Regions from separate parts of the Homo sapiens genome. Here all the other regions are linked to region 2. The links are contacts of gene promoters, found by promoter capture Hi-C in blood cells and fetal thymus (Javierre and others, 2016). All regions are on one chromosome and are shown on one strand. Each heading gives the region's core, a stretch centred on a gene start or on the middle of the fragment in contact. The rest is flanking DNA. Distances are from core to core; before and after follow the strand shown.

Region 1 (2,742 bases), core at 232-2,731, 340 kb before region 2:
TCATTTACTCAGCATCTCTCAGATATCAAGGACCAGATACCTAAGTATGTTGTCTCATTCAGTTATAAAGGCCCCGTGAAGTGAGTTTCGGTTGCACCTTTCTTTAGGACGGTCAGCTGGGTCTCTCTGCTAAACATCAAGCGCTGTGACACAGGCTCATACAAAAACTACTCCCTAGGACCCCCTATGCCCCCCTCCCCAGCCCCCACCTGCAGCTGTGGTGCAGGAAAGCTGAACCCCTGACTCCGGTGGGCATTTGCTCAGCAGGGTGTCCACAACTCTGCCTGCGCTTCTGAAGCTGAGATGAGACAGTCAGCCCCATGCATACAATGACAGGATGTCTGGAAATGCAGAGGCCCAAGGAAATTCATGTCTGGATCAGGTTTTCCCTTTGATTGTGGCCCAGGAATGGGAATGAGCTCCTGGGAGGGCGTTTGCTTCCCTAAGGAGTGAAGTGGCATGGAAGGGGACAGGGATTCTCTACGTTATAGGGTTGTGGTAACCCTGATCTCTTGGTGACCACAAAGTAAGAGCAGGGAGGCATCCTCAGGTATCCCCAATGCCCCAGAGTCTCAGCAGCCACGGGAAGGTCCAATCTGACCACAACCACAACTCCAGGGGTCTCACTTCCATCCTCTCTGGTGTTGCTTTAGCCTGTAGGCTGAAGATTAACCCCCACCCTAATCGCTTGTGCTATCTATAGATCACAGACAATGGTGTGGAGAAATACTTGCCTTGCTTACCCCCACCTAGTCATGTACCCCATGCTTGCTCAGTCTATCACGACCCTGTCACGTGGACCCCTTAGAGTTGTAAGCCCTTAAAAGGGCCAGGAACTCTTTCTTTGGGGAGCTCGGTTCTGTTCTTATGACGCAAGTCTGCTGACCTCCCGGCCTAATAAAGCCTCTTCCTTCTTTAACCCGGTGTCTGAGGAGTTTTGTCTGTGGCTCATCCTGCTACATTTCTTGGTTCCCTGACCGGGAAGTGAAGCAGCCCCTTAGGTGGCTTAGGCTTGCCCTGTGGAGCATCCCTGCAGGGGACTCTGGCCAGCTTGAGCTACGTGGATCCTGAGCATGCTCCTGGGTAGGCATTTGCCCCGGTGGAATGCCTTGTCAGAGCAGTGCATGGCAGGCCCCAGCAGAGGATCAATGCAGTGGCTGAGCACCGGGAGGGAACTGGCGCTTGGAGTCCGTATATCTGGAACATGGTAGGACTGGTCTTGGGAACTTGCCCACTCCATTTGAGTGGAAGCATGGCCTGATCACCCACAGAGTGCCTTTATCGGCACTTTGGTTTTGGTTTTGATTTTGACTTGGTTTGAATTCCTTGGCAAACGGGCGTGCCTTTGTCGGCACTTTGGTTTTGGTTTTGATTTTGACTTGGTTTGAATTACTTGACAAATGGGCGTGCCTTTATCGGCACTTTGGTTTTGGTTTCGATTTTGACTTGAATTGCTTGACAGGACCTGTCTTGGGAACTTGTCCACTCCATTTGAGTGGAAGCATGGCCTGATCACCCACAGCGTGCCTTTATCAGCACTTTGGTTTTGGTTTTGGTTTTGGTTTTGACTTGGTTTAAATTGCTTGACGAACGGGCGTGTCCTTTATCTGCACTTTGGTTTTGGTTTTGATTCTGATTTGGTGTGAATTCCTTGAACCCATTAACCCACGGGTGGCCCGAATGCATTCAGTCTGTAGCGGCAACTGCTTTGCTGACAGAAGAAAGTAGAAAAATAACTTTTAGAGGAAACCTCATTGTGAGCACACCTCACCAGTTCAGAAGTATCCTAAGTTAAAAAAAAAAAAGCAAAAAGGTAGCTTAATAACTCAAAAATCTTAAAGTATGGGGCTACTCCGTTAGAAAAAGATGATTTAACATAAACCCCTGAAAATTCCCTTAACCCAGAAGATTTCCTAACAGGGAATTTAAATCTTAATTACCATACAAAGATCCGACCAGACCTAGGAGGAACTACCTTCAGGACAGGATGATAGATAGTTCCTCCCAGGTGATTAAGGAGAAAAACCACAATGGGTATTTTGTAATTGAGGAAAACTCTTGTAGAAGTAGAGTTAGGAAAATTGCCTAATAATTGGTCTGCTCAACTTTGCCACCCAGCCAAGCCTTGAAGTACTTACAGAACCAGGAAAAAAAAAAGCCATCTATACCAATTCTAAGTTAATCTGGACTAAACAAAGTCTTATTAATAGCAAAGGATAATTGAAATCCCACACTTACAAGGTTTTCAACAAAAGTAAAGTTGTTTTGCTAAAAGTTAACAGTGTAACGTGTATGATAGTAACTTCTAATCTGTGGCCTTAGACAGTCTAGTCCACAGACCTGAAGGAAGTTTGCTTTGGAAAAGAATGGTTATCATCTTCGAAAAAAAGAAAAAAGAAAAAAAGTGGGGGTGCAGAATTTATATAAAAAGGAATGTTATATGGAAAATTCTTGTCCTGAAATAAATTAACTAGTTGTTTAAGGAAAGGGATGTTTCCAATAAGTCAGAAAGTTGAGACATGTCGAAGAATTGTCTGTGAAAATCATGAAAAAAAGTGTTAGAAAAAGAAATTTATGCAAGAAATGTTGTATAATTTAAATTAATTATCCTCCTGAATGTAAAACTGTTGAAGAAACAGTTTATGTGCAAGGTATATAAGGAAAGTAAAATATGCCTTTGGTAAAAGGATTATAAGGAAGCATAAGAATGTGGATTTTTACCTACATTAAAAGGTTACAAAA
Region 2 (2,854 bases), core at 168-2,667:
ATGGGCAGAAACATGTCTTTTTGGTCTCTTGAGTCTCCAGCATGTGGGGTATCTGTCACAAAGTAGGCAATCAATACATATTTATTTGCAGAATCAAGGGCAGGATGTGGACAAGTGCTGCCACCTATTGGGAGAAACTTTATTTGACTCTAAGGATTTGGACTATGGTTATCACACAAGGACGAAACTTGATACTCTCTCTCATCTAAGTTATCATTAGTTAGACCCTCTATGGTAGCCAGCCTCCAGGATGGCCCGCAGCGATCCCTGTCTGTTGGCATTCATACCTTTGGCTGGATCCTCTCACACATAGGGTTGGTTTGTAAATATGACAAAAGCCGTATGTGACCTCTGGAGCTAGGTCATAAAAGACATTGTGGCTTATACCTTGGTCTCTCTGGGATCACCTGCTCTGAAGGAAGCCAGCTGCCATGTCATGGGGACACTCAAACAGCCCTATGGGGAGGTTCACGTGGTGAAAACAGGTCTCTGGCCAACAGTCATGACTGTGCCATCCTGGAGGCCGATCCTCCAGCCCTAGTCAATAACTGCTGCCCTGGCCTACAGTTTGTAATCTCATGGGAGACCTGGAGACAGAACCACCCAGCCACGCATCCCCAAATCCCTTTACCTCTAAAACCTGTGGGACAACAAATGTTTATTGCGTTAAACTTTGGGGTGATTGTTATGCAGCCACAGAGTTCTAATAAACTGTCGGACATAGATTACTGGCTACAAATAGTTCTACTTTTTTTTTGAGACAGGGTCTCGTTCTGTGGAACCAGGCTGAGGTGCAGTGGTGCGATCACAGCTCATTGAGGCCTCGACCTCCGGGCTCAATCGACCCTCCCGCCTCAGCCACCCAACTAGCTGGGACTACAGGCAGGCGCCACCACACCTAATTTTTTGTATTTTTTGTAGAGATGGGGGGGGGGGTTTCACCATGTTGCCCAGGCTGGTCTCGAACTCCTGGGCTCAAACGATCCACCCGCCTCGGCCTCCCAAAGTGCTGGGATTACAGGCGTGAGCCACCGCGCCCGGCCAACCTAAGGATTAACCTAAGGCTTCTCAGAGCAGATGCCGCTGGAACTGAGGGCCACGGAAGAAAGGGGGTGACACTTGGTCCTGGGGAGTGGCGACTGTATTGTCTGTCTGCAGCATCCCTATCAGCGCTACCGTTGTTCCACGCACACAGGGAGTAAGTACTGGGAGTCCCAGCCACCGCCGCGGAAAATCTGGGATGCCAGCGAGCGGCCGCATCTCGGCGCCTGCGCACTGTGCCCGCGCTCTCAGGCAGCGCCGTTGCGCGCGGAGTCATCGATCGGCCGACCCCGAGAGGCCCGGTTCCTTTAGGCCGCCTGCCCGCCTCCAGCTCTCGGGGTCGGCTCCAGGAGGCGCCCTCAGGAGAGGGGCGGGCGCTCTATTCCAGAGACCGAGTGGCAGGGCGGCCACTGTGGCGGGGCTCTTTCCCCGTTTCGCCTCAGCTACCCCTCAGCTCCGGTAGTCGCCAGTCCGGGGTCGTCGCCGTTTGGGGCGGGAGCTGCTCGGCCCCGCCGCCGTCCCCGTCGCCGCTTCCGGGTCCAGGCCCCTCGGGCCGCCTGCCGCCGTCATGAGGCTGCGGGTGCGGCTTCTGAAGCGGACCTGGCCGCTGGAGGTGCCCGAGACGGAGCCGACGCTGGGGCATTTGCGCTCGCACCTGAGGCAGTCCCTGCTGTGCACCTGGGGGTACAGGTACGCTGGGGCCGGGGCTGGGCGGCCCGCGGGGAGTGGGGAGTGCTTGGGGTGGGTGCAGGGCGGGTTGGCGTCATCTGTGGGCTGCAGGCGCGGGCGTGGCCGGGCGATAGGCCAAGTGCGGGGACGCCGGGGGGGCCTTCACGGGAGGCCCGGGCTCTTCCGGGCGTCGCGGAGCCGGAGGGTGCAGGCGACGGGAAGCGCGGGTGGTCGGCTGGGGTCCGGCTCCTGGAGAACATGGCCCGGCCTCCCGGGGGCTCTGGTCCCCTCCTCGGTGAGTCATGGCTTCTGGTTTTGCAGTAAACGGAACCAGGGAGAGGAGGGAACGCACAATTTCCACAACTGGTTAGATTTCAAGTTGGAAATGATGAGCTTGGCTTGGGTTAAACCTTTCTGGACTGTGAGGGGTCCGAGTTAATTTCTTCAGCTGTTGGAGTATTTCAATGAAAAAGTTTGGAAATTGCTAGAAGTTAAAAATCTGCCCTCAATCCGAGGCCACCGGTAGCTTGTATCGCTGCTGTGAAGCGGCAACAATTTTAGATTCTGTTGTGTTCATGCGCCGAGCACCGCGGTGAGCGCTTGGACTTCGCCGCCGAAAAGTTTTAGAAAGGACAGCGTGTAGGCGTGTTTCAGACCATTTCATTTTCTTGGGTGAAATGTTGCTTTTTTGCTAAAACTGAGGCAAACGTTGATCTTGAGAGCTTGCAGTTTGGGGGCAGTAAAGTTGAGAAAGGATCATATTCTGTTATTGGTTTGTGGGACTGCAGGTGAAGCTGCTTTGTTTCCCTAAAAGATACTTTTTGGGGACAATAATTTGGGAGTAAAGCGGCAAGGTAAGAGTGGTCCTCTTCAAATACTGAGCTAGTGAATTTGAAACTTGAGTGTGCTAAGGAAAAATGAAAAAGATGTTCCCTGGGGATTTTTAGGTGAATTCTTCAAAACAAAAGCAAACCTTCCTACGTTTTCACCTTATTTTTAGGGAATTGGGTAAAATGAGGCCGTTATTCTGAACTTCTCGCCCTTTCATTTTCCTGGTTAAGACATTATTAGATTGAAAGTAAGCCTGTTTTCTTCCTGATTAAAAAAAAAACCCTAAATAAGATACTGACATAACTCCTTTTAA
Region 3 (2,700 bases), core at 28-2,527, 280 kb before region 2:
CAACATCCGGCTCCTGGGCTCAAGCAATTCTCCTGCCTCAGCCTCCTGAGTAGCTGGGATTACAGGCATGTGCCACCATGCCTGGCTAATTTTTTTTTTTTTTTAGTAGAGACGGGGTTTCACCATTTTGTCCAGGCTGGTCTTGAACTCCTGACTTCAGGTAACCCGCCCGCCTTGGCCTCCCAAAATGCTGGGATTACAGGTGTGAGCCACCGCGCCCGGCCAACATTTATTATTTCTTTGTGATGGGAGCCTTCAGAATCCTCTTAACTTTCTGAAAATATGCAATCATGTATAAGTGACCATATTTACCCCACAGTTGTGCTAGAGCCCATTTCTCCCATCTAGCTGTAATTTTATATTCAATTACCGACCTCTCCCCAAGCTCCCCTCCCTCTTACCCTTCCCAGCCTCCACCAAAGCCCATTTCTCCCATCTAGCTGTAATTCTGTATCCAATAACCAACCTCTCCCCAAGCTCCCCTGCCCCTTACCCTCCCAGCCTCTATACCCACAATTCTATGCTCTGCTTCTGTGAGCTCAGCATTTTTCTTTTACCTCCCATATAGGAGTGAGAACATGCGGTATTTATCTTTCTGGTCCTGATTTATTTTGCTTAACATAATGTCCTCCAGGCTGAGACTCAGGTCTTGACCCAGAGAAGTGATGAATCTGCAGGTATCGTGGAAATGGCCAGGTTAGTGATTAATTTGTACTTAATTCATAAAATAACAGCTTTGTTTTCAAATTTCAAATAACTTGAATATAATCTATTTCCCTCTCCTAAAGTGTATCACATATTAAATGAAGATTTTTTTCTTTGTATATATATTTTTAAAAGACCTACATTTAGTTCTATTAAAAAATGATTTACAGTGGGATGAGATCACTCCTCGGGATTCAGTGTCTGAGCAAGAAAACAAGGCTTGGGAGACAGTGTGTAGGGAGCCAGGTTAACTTTACGTGATTAGAATGAATTGGATCCGGTCATAAAGCAATCATTTGGGGTTTGCTCTTTGCTGGATTCTGGGTCACTCCACATCCACATGTAAAGACAGAGTCCAGTCCTGGTTTATCCTCTGTGTGAGAAAAACTTTCTGCCAAAACCAGGCTGGATACAATGTAAAGAGTGTGAGAATGACTTATGAAAAGAACCAAATTCACAAGATGATCCTTTCAGCTGCTCCAGGGAAGAAGGAACAGACAGCAAGATAGATTTGCAGAAGAGATGTGATGTCAATGAGACAGCAGCATAGTGCAGGGTGAGGCAGCCAGGGCACAGAGAGCCAGCAAAAGCCACTCGGACAGGTGTGGGAGGGACACGGAGCCACAGTCCGTAAAACCCAAAGGACAACTGTAACACTACTTTTTAGTATTTAAAAGGCAATTTCTTATTAATCTGCTTAATTGACATTCATGGTTTGAGATGTTCCATATTTTTCTGCTGTAACTTTGTTCCATTATCTTGTACCAAGCAGAAAAGTTTCTAGCATTGGGCATAAAGTAACTGTCTAAATAGTTTTGTGGCTAAAAGTTTATTTGCCCTGCTCAGGAGAAACTATAGGTTTGTCAATGCCCAGATTAATCACAGGACAGATACTCAGGAAGATTTGGTCATTGATAATTGAATCTGCAAAAGCAAAAAATGGGCACAGTGGCTCTGCAGCAGAAATCTTAGTGAATGTAAAGATATGAGTCCCATCATTAATGTTATAAAAGGAAATCATTCTCATACACATATCCAGGAAAATGCCTACCCTGCATAGCCCGGGACTGACCCAGAGGGTGGTTAAAGGCACAGTGCTGGCTGCAAAGAGCTTTTCTTTCCTCACACCCACAGTCCAGAAGCCAAGTTCTTTTTTTTTTCTTTTTTTTTACTTCATTTTTTTTTATTATTATACTTTAAATTCTGGGGTGCATGCGCACAACATGTAGGTTTGTTACATACGTATACATGTGCCATATGCTGCGCCCGTTAACTCGTCGTTTACATTAGGTATATCTCCTAATGCTATCCCTCCCCTGTCCCCCCATCCCACGACAGGCCCTGGTGTGTGATGTTCCCCACCCTGTGTCCAAGTGTTCTCATTGTTCAAATCCCACCTACGAGTGAGAACATGCAGTGTTTGGTTTTCTGTCCTTGCGTTGGTTTGCTCAGAATGATGGTTTCTAACTTCATCCATGTCCCTACAAAGGACATGAACTCATCCTTTTTTATGGCTGCATAGTATTCCATGGTGCATATGTACCACATTTTCTTAATCCAGTCTATCATTGATGGACTTTTGGGTTGGAAGTGGGATTTAGAGATCACACTCCGGCTGCTACTTACATAGTCCTTTTGAGTCAGACACTCCAAACACACCCAAAATGAACATGAGACCCTGAGAGGGTGATAGGGGCTTGCTTCCAACTTCTCCCTGGAGGTTGAGGCTGGACTTTCTTACTAGTACCTGGCAAGACCCATCCCAAACTAAGACAACACCAGGGAGGATGGAAGGGAGACCCCTGGAGTTGTGGTTGTGGTCAGATTGGACCTTCCCACGGCTGCTGACTCTGGGCCAAGCTGCCCCTTCTCTGGGGCATTGGGGACACCTGAGGATGCCTCCCTGCTCTTGCTTTGTGATCACACCAAGAGATCAGGGTTACAACAACCCTGTAGTGTAGAGAATCCCTGTCCCTTTCCATGCCCCTTCCCTCC
Region 4 (2,895 bases), core at 137-2,636, 360 kb after region 2:
CTGCTATTCTGGTGGCCACTTGTGTGGGATAAAGTTTCCCATGGGCCCCCGTGGAGAGGCTGGAGCACTCTCAGGGGATAGGGGGTGGTCTCAGCCCCCCTCACCGAGTGCACTTGCATGGCAGTAAGCAAGTCGGCGCCTCTGACCCCTGAGTGGGCTTGAGCTTTTGAGAGGTCAGCATGCCCCCTTAAACTTGATGTCTCCTCAGAGCACAGCACAGATGCCCAGCCAAAACACCCAGGGCGAAACCACTCCAAGAGGTGAAAGGGCTTGAGGGGAGACAGGGTACGGCGGGAGACAGAGATGCATGAAATACTAACGTTGAAGATTAGAAATGGGATGTGCACTGGAATGAGATCATTTGTGGTTCTGATGCAAAGACCCAGGCTTGTTTCTAGGGGTTTCTTGGGGCTTCGGGGGCCTCCTGTCAATGGACTGTTTGGACACCCATTTGGATACATGCAATCCTAAAGTCTATGGGCAGTGACAGAGTGATAAGTCTTTATCACTAGCCTCAGGGAGTAGAAGCCCACCTAAGAAATGGCACTGTCCCATGTTGGAGCAAGACCCAACCTACCAAGCTGGGAGTTACCGCCCACTGCAAGGCACCCCTGTACTTTGTTGGACTCTCTGTTTTCTGTCTCTCCAATGGGCTGGACTCTCCAGCCTCCGGGCCTCTGCCCAACCATGACCAGAAGGTCCTCTCCTTTCTCTTTCTCTTAACTGTCTCTAGTGATTCTCTGATCCCAGCTCAGGCAGGATGTCTCCCTCCGGCGCCTCCAGGCTGGCTGGGTGTGTCTGCTGCATGCTCCTGTGGCTCCCTGGACTATAACTCCCTGTCTTCTTGTCTCACAAGAGTAAAATAAGCTTCTTAAAGGTAGGAACCTTGTCTGCCTGCTTATTACTGAATCCCCAAGACATGGCACAGGATCTGAGATGCATAGTTCCTCAAATACTTCTGAATAAATATCAGATGAGTGAATCAATGAATTTCAAGTGGACTTGAGGAGAAGGAGGGGGGGTGGCAAAATAAAACAAACAATAAACACTATGGCAGAGAGGGACACAGGACCTGGAGATGGGGCCTGGATAAACAGCCTGCCATGCTCTTCATATTTCCTGAGTGCTACCACAAGGAAGAGGGGCAGCTGGAGGCCAGAGGGCCTGCAGAGGAGTCAGCAGGTCTAGCAAGGAGTGCCTTGGGTGGAGACTCCCTGGGGCTAATTTTGGTGTCACCACTGACTTCCTTGAGGGTGCTGAGCCTTGGGATCTTCATGTGTTGGTAGCTTTTGGGTGCTGTCCTTCCACAGACACATCAACAAGTTCATGGGGGTCTCCTGTAATAGGGTCCTGTGACTTGCCTCTTTTTGGAGGTCAGTCTTCAATATTTTGGAACAATGTCGGTATTCGGCCTCTCCAGATCACATTTTTACTTGTCCCTTCCTTTTCTGAGTAACTCTATGGAACAAGGACTCCTGACCCAGCACTCCAGGAAGCCAAACACAAAACCATCCCCGTCTTCGTTATTGTATTACCTTTGGTTCCCTCCCACAGCCTCATTCATTCATTCATTCAACATTTTTGGGAACCCTGGCCACAATCTAGGCTCTATGCCATGTGCTGGAGTCCCAGATGCAGTCCCTGCCATCCGGTAATTAGCGATGCTAGTGAGTGTCCAAGGAACCAATCATTAAAGAACACGTGCTGGAAGAAAGAGAGGAAAGCCAAGCAGAAGAGAGGTGGACTAGCTTGGCCTGGGGTGGACAGAAGGCTTCCTGGAGGAGGTAGCATTTCAGCTGGGTGGGTCTTGCAGGAAGCCAAAGGTGCAGGCAGATGCACAGGGAGGAAGTGATTCTCACCTAGGCAAGGGGCATCATAGGACAGGTTCATATAGTGATGGGGGCTGGAAGCTTCAGAGTGATAGGGTTTGAGGTATGGTCCCAGCTCTGAAGAGCCATATATATGCCACCGAGCTATGCAGAATAATCCTGTAGATACTGCAAACCCAAGGGAGGTGTAGGTGAGGATGTAAATGAGGGTTGTGGATCCCATTTGTTCCTGGGAGAATGTGGGGGACTTAGGGGAGAAGGACTGTGTTTCCCACTGTCTATCCTTTGGGGCTTTGACATTTCCCACCTGACAGCCATTTGCAGAGTAAAAGCCTCAGGGATTCTAATCATGCTTGGTGAACACTTTGAGGTAGTCGCCTCATTGGACCCTTAGAAACCCAGGTCACAGAAACACCATCACCCTTCTGAGATTCACAGTCCTCCCTCCCCAGGTAAGTCGGCCCTGAATCCAGGAATCAGCCAGCCCTAGGACTTTTGCCCTGTCCCAGGCCAAGGTATCTGTACCTTTCTTCCAAATTGCTGGTGGCCCCAGGAAGAAATCAAGAGTGGCTGACTTTAAGCAGTTAGATTAAACATCAAATGCATTCATCCCAAGTCCAGGCATATACCTAGAAGGAGCGACTCTTAAATTTTGTCATTTCATTGTGTAAAACTGAGGTTGCCCCTTAACACATGAAGGCCAGCATGGGATGCTAATTTTGTGTTGTGTTCTTTTGGGTAATCTCAAAGTTCCAGGAAGCCTGACCTTCCTAAGCCTGTGTTTCCTTGCCTCCCCTTCCCGGCCCCTTCATTTCATCTACAACAGACGTCAGCAGGGGCCCTGAGTTTTTCCCAGACCGCTCAAGCAGAAACCCATCCTGCTCACAAGGTGAGGAGAGCCAGGAGCTCACAAAGGCCCCTCCTCCCCTTCCCCGGGAGGTCCAGGACAGGGCATCCCCAGGACAGACCTGCCCTGGGGACCCCGGAACACAAGGCAGGTACTGAGAAACAGGAATCTCTGGGCAGGGAGGTTTTCATATCCTCCAGGTTTAATAGCTTTCCCTGA
Region 5 (2,760 bases), core at 221-2,720, 260 kb before region 2:
ATGGGGCTGAAACTCCTGGAGTCAGGGCTAGGTTAATGGGAAGGTTCCCAGGACACTGCACTCTAGGGTAACCAGCTTCTCCCTGGAGGGAGAGGGTACTGTCTGCATCACCCCATGGTATCACCAAGCAATCAGTGTTGAGTCAACTCCCCCAGGGAGACCAGGTATCCCTGTCCATGAAAATTCCTCCTAGTGGCATAAATGCCCTCTGATAAACTCATCCCCATGACTACATGATGGTTGGTGGGAAAACCAAACCCAAGACGCCGATGTCCTCCAGGGATCCTGCTGCTGGTCACAGGATGTCACTTGTCCCCTTATCTGTGGGGGTGAGGGTGAGGGGTGTGTGGACTCAATGAGCAGATGCCACCAGGGGGAGTGGCCAGAGCTTCCTTCCTCACAGCTGCAGTGGGGGCTGGGGGTAGGGGCATCCCAGGGAGGGGTTTTTGTATGAGCCTGTGTCACAATGTGGCGCTGGGTCTGCTGGCGGGCCTCCTGATGGTTCTTGCCTGTGCCCATGGCAGCAGGTGGGACAGAACAATCCTCAGGCTCCCAGGTGCTTGCCTGGAAGTGCAGCGGCGGCGAGTGGGGCAAGTCTTCCCTCAAGCCCTGGGACAGTATCTGGGTGGGCTGGTTCCCAGACACAATGAAGGTACGTGCAATTTTGTGTCAGCCCTGCTGCTGGGGGTGGGATGTGGGGTTGCTGTCAGTGGCAGCAGCCACAGGCAGATGGCTCTCAGGCTCATGCACTTGGGTTTCCTTTGTCATGGAGCTGGCCTCCTTGGTGCACTGCATTGCCCATTCCCTGGGGTGTAGGACTCTTGTGTGGGCTAGAGTGCTGGAGACGCGGTCAAACCGCTGGTCTAGCCGGCATCATGCTGCTGTAGCCCTCTAAGTGGATAAGGGGAGATGTCAGGGGGGCTCTAGGGATGTGGAGATGCAGGGCTGTTGGGCCCCAGGGCAAGAGGCAATCCTCATGGGGTCTGGGCTCTCAAAATGGCACGTGCTGGAGCTTCTTGGATCTAAAGTGTGTGTGTGGTACCCAGCACGACTCCCTCTGGAACAATGCCATTGCGTGGACAAGTACAGGCAGCATCCTATGCTGTCTCAGGGCCCACAAGAGCTGAGGGGCTCTCCCATGGCCAGGGTTGCAGGAATCTGTGGTGGGAATGTGGACCCCTGGGAATCTCTCACTTACCTTTTCCCCTGCACTGGGGAGCTCATCTGGTCTTGCTTTTCTCTCCTTCCATATCTCGGATGGTTCTGTCACTTCCCCGCTGAATTCCAGCATTCTCTGTTAGATGCTCTATTTGACATGTGATTATCTGTTTTGCTCCTTCTTTGTGGAGGAGACGAATGTTGGGCACCTCTAGTCAGTCACCTTGAAGCTCTTCTCCAAGTGTCATTTTTTTTTTTGAGTTTTAAAGTTGGCCTGTTGGTCTTTTTATTCCGGATACAACTCCTTTGTCAGACGTGTGCGTACTCTAAGTATTTTCAGTTATTTTGTGGGTTGTTTGGTCATTTCCTTTAAGGTGACTTTTGTTGGCTAGAAGTTTTCAATTTTGATGTAGTTCAATATATTGCTTTTTTCTCCTATGATTGGTAATTTTTGTGTCCTCTGTATGAAGACATTGTCTATTCCAAGGAGGTTATATTATATATATACACACACACACACACACACACACACACTATATATATATATACACACACTATATATACACACTATATATACACACACTATATATATACACACTATATATGTATGTGTGTATATATATACATATATGTATACATATATATCTATATATGTATACATATATGTATACATATATATCTATACATATATGTATATATCTATATATGTATACATATATATCTATACATATATGTATATATCTATATATGTATACATATATATCTATACATATATATGGATATATATCTATATATGTATACATATATATCTATACATATATATGGATATATATATCTATATATGTATACATATATATCTATATATATAGCAGGGAAGCCCAAGTCTGTTTCTTCCTATCCAAATGCAGTTCAACAGTTAGGCTTACTTGTCTCTTTCTCATTTATTTATGGGAGCTCTTTTTTTCCTGTTTTGTAATATCTTTTGGACTCCACATTTTCAATTTCATTTGCACTGCCTTTTGATATACAAAATGTGTTTATTATTTTTAGGTTTCCTGTTTTAAGAATGTTCCTCACCTTAAACCACTTGATAGAAAAATAGGAAAAGGTTATAAATAGGCAACTAATTGAAGTTAAAATAACTGATTAGTTAGCACTCCTGTGAGATTTTTCACCAAGGGAATTAGCAAGATATATATATTTTTTGAAAAAGCAACAACTTTTGTTGCTACTGAGCCTGCAGGGGAAACGGTCCTCCTGCTTGTTCCCTGTTGATGGGAATGTGAATTGCTTCAACTTTTTGGAAAGTAACTAATCAGTATCTATTAAAAGTGTAAGTAAACATAGCTATGGCTAAGTTATACCACTACAAAGATTCTGTCCTGTAGAAATGAAACCATCCAGTGTAAAAGATGATTGCTACAACACTATTTGTGGTGGCAAAGAGTACTTAACTTGAATGTCCATCTGAAGGGGAATTGTTGGCTGGATGCAGTGGCTCATGCCTGTAATCCCAGCGCTTTGGGAGGCTGAGGTGAGTAACTTGAAGTCAGGAGTTCAAGACCAGCCTGGGCAACATGGCAAGATCCCATCTCTGAAAAA
Region 6 (2,700 bases), core at 69-2,568, 340 kb after region 2:
CTGTTCGAGGTACTTTTGGGCTGACCAAGGCTCAGAGGCTACTGACAGCTTTGCTGCAAGTAACTTCTAGGCCTTGTGGGTCCCAGTGCAGGGAACCCATGTGCGGTGACACTGGAGAAGCCATCTGATCCAGGTCTCTCACTTGACAGATGGGGAAACTGAGGTCCAAAGAGGTACAGCAGCTTGGTTTAAGAGATAGAGATGGAACTGGAACAAAAATAATAACCATTTGATAATATTTTAACATTTATTGATTTGTTTTTATATGCCAAGACCTTTTAAAGCATTATCTCCTTTAAACTCTCATAACCACTCATTGAGGTAGGCACTCCTATTTCTACTTTGCAGATGAAAAAAATTGGGACTTAAGAGGAATTAAATATGAAAGCAGCTACTATTTGTTGACAGCTATTTTAAGATCTTTATATACATATATACATGTAATAAATTCTATTCTTTACTATAAACATACATGTCAGAAATTATTAGTGTTATCATCCTTGTCCTCCTCATTCCACTTTGCAGATGAAAATACTGAAGCTGAGAGAGACTAGGTAACTTACCTAGTATGTACCTACATAGTGAAGCCAGATTTGAGCCGGACCTCCTGACTCCAGAGTCCGAGCAATCTCACCAATTCTGCCCACGGTCACCCCACTGCATGATGGCAGAGCTAGTATTTGAGCAGGTGTGTCTGTTCTGTGGTCTGTGGTCTTCACCGCCCCACTAGACAGCCTGGATTTTTCTGCTCTTGAGTCTCAACACTTTCTGCCTTACTGTGCCACTAGTAAGGAACAGAACAGGGAGGTTTTTGACCCCAGCACTGATTGAAGGGCCCAGGCAAAGCAGGCTCGTCTCCTCTGGCTTGGCTGGTTCCCAGGCTGCCCTAACCCATGAAGCCAGATTCTTGGCCAAGTTAAGCAGGGTGGGAAGAACACTTGTCCATTCCGCCTTCCCAGTTGGGCGAGGTCAGTGTACCAGGTTGGAAAGTGGTATGTGTCTAATTGCAGGGGCGGGGGTAGGGGGGAGGCCAGAGGATTAACACTCTTTAAATAGACATCAGAAAACTAAGAATAGCCTTGCTGCCTGGTAATTGATGGGCATTCCTGACTACGGGCCACACACTCAGTAGGTGCTCGATAAACATGGGTGAAATACAGGAATAAACAAATACTGAAAATGGGTCATTGGGTGAGCACTTAGCCAGTAAAAATCTGTGCTTTGTATAAAAAGAACTTTGGACTGAGGTTATATGAGTCTTCCTGCAGGCTGGAGACCTCTGTTACCTTTACTTCTCTACTTTTGTTGTCTTGAGACCAGCTTTTTTATTTTTGGTGAGGAGAACAGCAGGCAGTTCAAATGTCAGGGAAAGACAAGTTCAGCTTGCTTTTTCCTTATTTCTGTCTTGTTACCTGCTATCCTGCCAGGTTAGAAAGATGGAATCACTCCCTTTTGCCCTATCATCAAGACTTCAGTGTTCCCTGGAGCACTCTAAATTTGCCATCAGACTTGGATCATCCTCTAATACCAAGCTCCTGGGTCCTTCCTGAAGGCTGCCTCCTTGTCTTGCTGAGAAGAATTAAGGTCGCTTCCCTGGGAGGAATTCAGCAGCACCTCTTGTAAGTCATCAGGTGTGCTGTAAGGATGGGGCAGGCAACATTTCTTTGTACTGTGGGAAGGCCTAAATCAGTGTTTCTCAAGGTGTGATCCTTGCACCACCAATCTTAAGAAATGTTCTTTGGAGCCGGGCACAGCGGCTCACGCATATAACCCCACCTTGGGAGGCTGAGGCGAGAGGATCGCTTGAGCCCAGGAATTGAAGACCAGTCTGGGTCACATAGTAAGATTCCCTGTCTCTACTAATTTAAAAAAAAAAAAAAGAAAAGGTGGTTGGGCCTGTAGTCCCAGTTACTCTTGAGGCTTAGGTGGGAGAATCGCTTGAGTCCACGAGGTTGAGGCTGCAGTGAGCCATGATTGTACCACTGCACTCCAGCCAGGGTGACAGAGCAAGACTCTATCTCAAAAAAAAAAAAATGTTATTTGGGAGAGCTGTTTATTGTATTCCCCTCTTGGAGAGACATGTGGCTATTAGCATAGTAAAAGCTCTGAGAAGTCCTGCTGCATGGTGACCTGTTTAGCTCTGTTTAATCCAGTGTTCTCTGAACATATCTAGCCAAGGAACTAATTTTCCCAAGAAGCACCTACAAATGCAGTTGGTGAGACACTGCCCAGATGAGGATTCTGAAAACCCCTTTTGCCCACTTGCCTGCCATTGTGATTGCTGAGTAGGGAAGAAGAAATTAGGAAGTATCATCTGCATTACACAGGGAAGCTGCTCTCCTAGGGTTGCCAAACAGAAATGGCTGTAGTGGTGCCAGTGGGTGCTTTGTAGGGACCAGAAGAAAAAGGAGGAAGGGAAGGCTGACCTTCAAGGTCACACATTTGCCAGATTTAAAGTTCCTTCCTGTGGTCATGACTTGTTTTATAATCTTGCTTGGCTCAGTTCTGGGCACACATCAGATTTTTAAATCCTAGGATCTTGTTTATACCGTTAAGGACATGATTGAAGGACATTGTGGTGAGTGTGAAGGTGAGATGTTTCTGATTGAAGGTCCATGGGGCAGGCACCCTGCGAGCAGGTAATGAACAGTAGGGGACATACCGGTGCAACCCCACCCTGGTCCCCTGGTCGTCTGGGCC

Evidence for each region. Contacts are between HindIII fragments. The CHiCAGO score rates a contact against its expected background, and 5 or more counts as called.
Region 1: a contact is called between a fragment that was not itself captured here and the fragment with the promoter of FBXO7 in region 2, in 11 of 17 cell types (naive CD4 T cells, total CD4 T cells, activated CD4 T cells and 8 more). The highest score is 15.3, in naive CD4 T cells.
Region 3: a fragment that was not itself captured here is called in contact with the fragment with the promoter of FBXO7 in region 2 in 1 of 17 cell types (naive CD4 T cells); the score reaches 5.9 in naive CD4 T cells.
Region 4: a contact is called between a fragment that was not itself captured here and the fragment with the promoter of FBXO7 in region 2, in 1 of 17 cell types (M1 macrophages). The highest score is 5.2, in M1 macrophages.
Region 5: a contact is called between a fragment that was not itself captured here and the fragment with the promoter of FBXO7 in region 2, in 2 of 17 cell types (naive CD4 T cells and total CD4 T cells). The highest score is 5.3, in naive CD4 T cells.
Region 6: a contact is called between a fragment that was not itself captured here and the fragment with the promoter of FBXO7 in region 2, in 3 of 17 cell types (erythroblasts, M1 macrophages and M0 macrophages). The highest score is 7.0, in erythroblasts.

Annotation. Positions count from the first base shown.
Region 1 is chr22:32,136,706-32,139,447 of GRCh38, forward strand. No RefSeq gene overlaps it. Among named protein-coding and RNA genes, the nearest start is that of C22orf42, 21 kb to the right of the region's middle. The HindIII fragment of the contact is 8,725 bases long and covers 1-2,742 here.
Region 2 is chr22:32,473,394-32,476,247 of GRCh38, forward strand. It overlaps FBXO7 (F-box protein 7), which reads left to right and starts at 1,418. Exons shown (of 9, transcript NM_012179.4): 1 at 1,418-1,731. The coding sequence starts at 1,610. RefSeq lists enhancers at 393-452, 1,178-1,678, 1,341-1,510, 1,679-2,179, 1,765-1,934 and silencers at 1,499-1,688, 1,699-2,008. The HindIII fragment of the contact is 4,456 bases long and covers 1-2,854 here.
Region 3 is chr22:32,195,534-32,198,233 of GRCh38, forward strand. All of the region lies in intron 2 of RFPL2 (ret finger protein like 2), which reads right to left. Among named protein-coding and RNA genes, the nearest start is that of RFPL2, 8.2 kb to the right of the region's middle. The HindIII fragment of the contact is 3,731 bases long and covers 1-2,700 here.
Region 4 is chr22:32,837,243-32,840,137 of GRCh38, forward strand. The region is part of intron 6 of SYN3 (synapsin III); the gene reads right to left. All of the region lies in intron 1 of TIMP3 (TIMP metallopeptidase inhibitor 3), which reads left to right. Among named protein-coding and RNA genes, the nearest start is that of TIMP3, 37 kb to the left of the region's middle. The HindIII fragment of the contact is 1,043 bases long and covers 866-1,908 here.
Region 5 is chr22:32,211,809-32,214,568 of GRCh38, forward strand. All of the region lies in intron 2 of SLC5A4-AS1 (SLC5A4 antisense RNA 1), which reads left to right. Among named protein-coding and RNA genes, the nearest start is that of SLC5A4-AS1, 8.1 kb to the left of the region's middle. RefSeq lists an enhancer at 294-795. The HindIII fragment of the contact is 3,566 bases long and covers 1-2,760 here.
Region 6 is chr22:32,815,197-32,817,896 of GRCh38, forward strand. The region is part of intron 6 of SYN3 (synapsin III); the gene reads right to left. The region is part of intron 1 of TIMP3 (TIMP metallopeptidase inhibitor 3); the gene reads left to right. Among named protein-coding and RNA genes, the nearest start is that of TIMP3, 15 kb to the left of the region's middle. The HindIII fragment of the contact is 7,068 bases long and covers 1-2,700 here.